2 separate regions of the Homo sapiens genome follow, and region 1 is linked to region 2. Evidence: promoter capture Hi-C in human tissues and cell types (Jung and others, 2019). All regions are on one chromosome and are shown on one strand. Each heading gives the region's core, a stretch centred on a gene start or on the middle of the fragment in contact. The rest is flanking DNA. Distances are from core to core; before and after follow the strand shown.

Evidence for each region. Contacts are between HindIII fragments. The study calls those that stand out against the background at their distance.
Region 1: a fragment that was not itself captured here is called in contact with the fragment with the promoter of CPA3 in region 2 in 1 of the 25 tissues and cell types used here (mesendoderm cells).

What each region holds. Positions count from the first base shown.
Region 1 is chr3:148,358,898-148,361,597 of GRCh38, reverse strand. All of the region lies in intron 3 of LINC02046 (long intergenic non-protein coding RNA 2046), which reads right to left. Among named protein-coding and RNA genes, the nearest start is that of LINC02046, 79 kb to the right of the region's middle. The HindIII fragment of the contact is 6,456 bases long and covers 1-2,700 here.
Region 2 is chr3:148,863,991-148,866,690 of GRCh38, reverse strand. It overlaps CPA3 (carboxypeptidase A3), which reads right to left and starts at 1,395. Exons shown (of 11, transcript NM_001870.4): 1 at 1,316-1,395; 2 at 1,143-1,218. The coding sequence starts at 1,383. The HindIII fragment of the contact is 8,383 bases long and covers 1-2,700 here.

The sequences.
Region 1 (2,700 bases), core at 74-2,573, 510 kb after region 2:
AATGATGGAGGCTAATACCACCAGTGATGTTATGTTGGTATCATGTACTCTCTAATAGTATGCAAGAGAAGGGCACTTTGCCTCTATGGTACTCACTTCCAAAACCCACAACCTCAGTCTGAAAAAGAGGAAATTCTACATTGAAGACATGCTTCAAAGTTCTCAAAGTTTTGAAAACCTGAGAAACTGCCACAGGTCAGAGGAGACTAAGGAGGCATGATGATTAAAAGTGTTGTTACAGCATCCTGTATTGGATTCAGGAATATGAAAAAGACATTAGTAATTTGCCAGTGTTAATTTTCTGGTTTTGACATATGTGCCATGATTATTATATGAAATATTAACATTAGGGGCAAATGAGTCAAGGTATACGAGAACTCGGTAGTGTCATCCAAACTTATTCCAATGTAAAAACAAAAGTTTATTTAAAAAATCTCTGGTTCTTACTTTTACACTGTTGGTGGGACTGTAAACTAGTTCAACCATTGTGGAAGACAGTGTGGTGATTCCTCAAGGATCTAGAAATAGAAATACCATTTGGCCCAGTCATCCCATTACTGGGTATATACCCAAAGGATTATAAATCATGCTGCTATAAAGACACATGCACACATATGTTTATTTGCTATTCACAATAGCAAAGGCTTGGAACCAACCCAAATGTCCATCAATGATAGACTGGATTAAGAAAATGTGGCATATATACACCATGGAATACTATGCATCCATAAAAAAGGATGAGTTCATGTCCTTTGTAGGGACATGGATGAAGCTGGAAACATCATTCTGAGCAAACTATCGCAAGGACAGAAAACCAAACACCGCATGTTCTCACTCATAGGTGAGAATTGAACAATGAGAACACTTGGACATAGGATGGGGAACATCACACACTGAGGCCTGTCATGGGGTGGGGGGAATGGGGAGGGATAGCATTAGGAGATATACCTAATGCAAATGACGAGTTAATGGGTGCAGCACACCAACATGGCACATGTATACATATGTAACAAACCTGCACGTTATGCACATGTACCCTAGAACTTAAAGTATAATAAAAAAAATCTCTGGTTCTTGATTATCAAATATAGTTGTGTATAAGAACTACTATAAAAACTTTTTAAAAACATGTATTTCAGGGCTATATCCTTGGAGATACTGATTCTGTTGGCCTGGACAGAGTTCAAGAAGCTGTACTTTTTAAAGACCCTCTTCAGAAAGATTCTGACATGCTGCTGGGTTTGGGAATAACAGTTCTACAGAATTAAGCAAAGTAGATTGCACACTATCCCAGGAATTTGTGGGCAACTTGAGCCTTTAAGCACTCACATTCTTTCCTCACAACCAGAAAATAATTTCATCTTTGCTTAGCTCACAGGGCTTTCTGAAAGTCTTAGATTTTGCTTCATGTGTTACTCACCCATTATCTTTACTCTCTGTCTCTCTCTCTTTTTTTTTTCTGTTTCCTGGAAGGAAACATAAGTTGAGGTATATAGATTTTTCAAATAGTGAATTTCCAGCCCATTCTAAACTTACTCTTTCATAGTGAGAAACCTAATGAGACAGCAGCCTGGGTTAAACAGACCAGATGTTTGAAAATAAAAATTTTATTTACTCCCAGTTTGTGGGTTCATCAAAGTACTGGTAAGTATTGTCCATCTCATGTGTTTTAATAAATAGATAAGAACCAAAGTAAGCTGATCTTTAATTGATTTTAGGAAAATAGAAGGTGCTCTTAAGACAATCTGTAGTCCCTTGATAGGTTAAATAGTGTTTTTTTTTTAAATTAAAATAGCAAAGCTTTCCACATATTTTATTTGATTTAATCCTCAGAATAGTCCTGTGAAGTAGGTAGTTATCAACTCCACTTCACAAATGAGACGATTTGGGCACAGAGAGGTTAATTAATTTTTCCAAGATCATACAGCTAATAAATGGTGAGGCCAGGTTTACATTCCAGGATGTTGACACTCAGGGACTACTTTCTGATCCACTGTGATGTACTGCTGCCCTATAGAAATATGTTTGGCACAACTATAAAGTAGTGAAAAGAATTTGTTACTCCAGCTGGGTCCAGACTACTCTAAATGCTAAAATTGTAAAATTGGTGTGCATGGCTGTATACCACTTGCAGAACAGTTAACTTTAGATTTCTAACATATTTTGCCATAGTTTAAAAGTTCTCATCAAGTATGGCCAATGTTGCATGCGTGTGTGTGTGTGTGTGTGTGTGTGTGTGTGTGTGATTTTTCTGTCAAGGCTTTTTGGTATGCTATATTTGATTCTTATATACTAGGCAGCTAGTTTCGAGATTCTCCAAGGATAGGAAGATTTGGGATCCAAGACAGTATACTGTGTGTTAGGTGTCCGGAGGTAGGGAGTAACATTTTAAAAAGCAGCAATTTCTTTTTAAAGGGTCAAGAAAGTCAGGTAGAAATCATGACAGGCTGACATCAACTAACCCTCTAACCCCAGGCCTCTACAAAACTAACTACACTAACCTCAGGTCTCTACAAAATGACTGGGTATTTTTGCTTGTAATGCATTCTCATTGAATTTCACAAAACAAATAAATAAAACAAGCCTGTGTTGTCACTTCTGAAAAACTCCAGTCTATTACAATGAAGAGAGAGCACCTGTTTAAAAATATTCTGGGTGATAAATCACAGAAGGTTGCATTAATCAAGGCAGCCTAAAGCT
Region 2 (2,700 bases), core at 146-2,645:
TGTAGCAACCCTAGGAAGTAGCTATGACTATTATCCCCATTTTATAGCAGAAGAAATTGAGACCCAGAGATGTTGAGTAAGTTGCCTAAGGCTACAGAGCTAGCGTAGAGCTTGGATTTGAATGTAAGCGTTTGACTTTGAAGAAAATGCTTTTTCCGTACTAGGCTGCTTCTTAGTAATGACCCTCAAACGGAGGAATGCAATTGTCAAGTTTTAGAGTGAGCAATCAGGTTGCAATGCAGAGTTGGCTTTGTGGGAGTCAAGACTAGAGCCCTGATTGCTAGTTAAGGGACTATGGAAATTCTCCTTGCAAGAGGTAGAGTGAACATGAACTTGGCAGTGGCAGTGGAATGGAGGGCAATGTGTGGATTTGAGAAACATTTGGGAGTTAGAATAGGCAGGGCCTTTGATTGATTTGATGTAGAGGTAACTGTATGTTTGACTGGAATAAATCCCAGACCCAGTTCTGGGTTTAAATTTGATGTGTAATCTTGGTCATTTAATTTATTGTCTTTGCACTTTAGCTCTTCTGTTTCAAATGAGTTACATTATAACCCTGACATTGAGAATCTGCTGGAGAATTTGAAATGGCATATATAAGGTGGCTGGTGCAACATAAATAGGAGCAGCTGAATACATGATAAAATTATATTAGGCTGTTGGATTTTAAAGGATTGATCTAACTTTAAAAGTCTTATTTGAAAATGTACCTGCTCTTGGAAAGGGTCACATCTTGATATTAGCCAGTGCCTCAACGTTTTCAGTTAGTACTCAAGAGAAATTATGGCACCAGAGGAGATGAGGGTCGGAGTGGGGAGAATGGAGAGGGAATGGCACCCGTAGGCAAGAGAAAGATGCCCTGATAAGGAGGCCAAGAACAGCTCCTGATTTCATAGTTTTACCTTGAAAAAGCTGGTGTTTGAAAAGCTTTTGGGAGGAAAAACAGAAGTGGTAGTCTTGGAAACCAAGACCAAAACCAGAACAGGTGAAGTATTGGCCATTGGCTGAATTATCCAGATAGCTCCTGCTTTCCCCTTATGTTCAATAGTCTTTTGTAGTCCCATGGGCATTGACAGTAAAATAAGAAGAAGCATCTTTTAGAGAACAGTAAGAAAAGATAAAATATCCCTCTAAATGCTTACCTCATTGGTTTTGGCCAAGTCCTTTATGATGTCTGCTTGTTTTTCATCCTGGGGCTTCACGCGGAACACCTTCTCCCTTTGTGGAGGCAAATGAAAAAAAAAAAGTGAACTGTAAGGAAACAACCTTTAATTCTCTTCTACACAGAGACTGGAACACAGGAAGTAAGATTTACCTGTCAAAGCGGACAGGAGCAATTGCAAGAGTGGTAGCAATCAAACCCACAGGCAGGATGAGCCTCATGGTTCTTCTTTGCCTGCCTTGAGACCCTCTGGCAGTTTTATGCCTCAGCCCTTATCTTGATGAGCAGCTGATTTCCTCTTAGGGTTCTGTTGCACAAACTGTTCCCCTTCTTCCCCCACACCAGGTTTTTTTTTTCCAGCTGGAGAGGGAAAAACACTAACCCACCAAGCACATGCTACTTATCTACCTTTTGCAATAGGAAATACCCATTTTACAGATACAGGATGGGAAGCAAATGCCTTTAGCAAATAACTTGGCCAAGGTAACAGAGAAAGTATGTTCACAGAGCTGGGATTTACTAGTTCTATCTGTTCTAAAATACTACTCTACCATTCTGCTTGAATTGAATGATGGAAGAAATTAGTTTTAAAATTTGCACTTGGAGACTGAGATGAATTTGGGTATCTGGCCATAAAATCTTGGTGAGTGGTTCGTAATAATGTAAAATATATTTTTGAAGCTAGAATGTAAGTTGTGAAATTAAAAACATTTAAATTGACTGGGCACGGTGGCTCACGCCTGTAATCCCAGCAGTTTGGGAGGCCGCGGCGGGTGGATCATCTGAGGTCAGGAGTTCAAGACCAGCCTGGCCAACGTGGTGAAACCCTGTCTCTACTAAAAAATACAAAAATTAGCCGGGCGTGGCGGCAGGTGCCTTAATCCCAGCTACTTGGGAGGCAAAAAAAACCCCAAAAATTTAAATTACAAAATATAAATGTACTAAAAATGCTGTAAGTACTATGGCGAACATTGAAATGTTCACCATTTAGATTTTACAATGATAACATTTTTGTTATATTTTTCCTGTACTTCTCTGGGTAAAGAAATAAACACTAAAGACCTAAAGCACTGCCCTAACTCTTTGCCCTTCTCTTCTCTCTGTCCTCAGAGGTGACCCCTATTTCTAAGGCAACTTGAGAACTACCTGACAGCAAGAAAATATCAATGCTGTAATGTTTATTAATTGGACACTGTCTTCAGAGCCTGGATGCTGTAATTGCCAAATAATGCCTTTTGAGAGTTGAATTAATGAAAGCCACCTATAGACCATTCACAACCATCTCTGGAGGGATGTTTAGTCTTGAACACAACTTGGTTAATTATGGGAGAATAACACCTTTACCTAGAATCATAGGTAACCTAAAAGAGTAAGTGAATTTATCTAATCAGTTAACTTATTAGAATTTCCTTTTTGAAAACCACCTCTTCACATTGACAAACGTATAGCTGACTGTAGATAAAACTTCTCAGAGTCACGCTTATGTACTATCAAAATAGTGTGGTTGGAGACACGCCCCTGTTATATATACAGCAGCA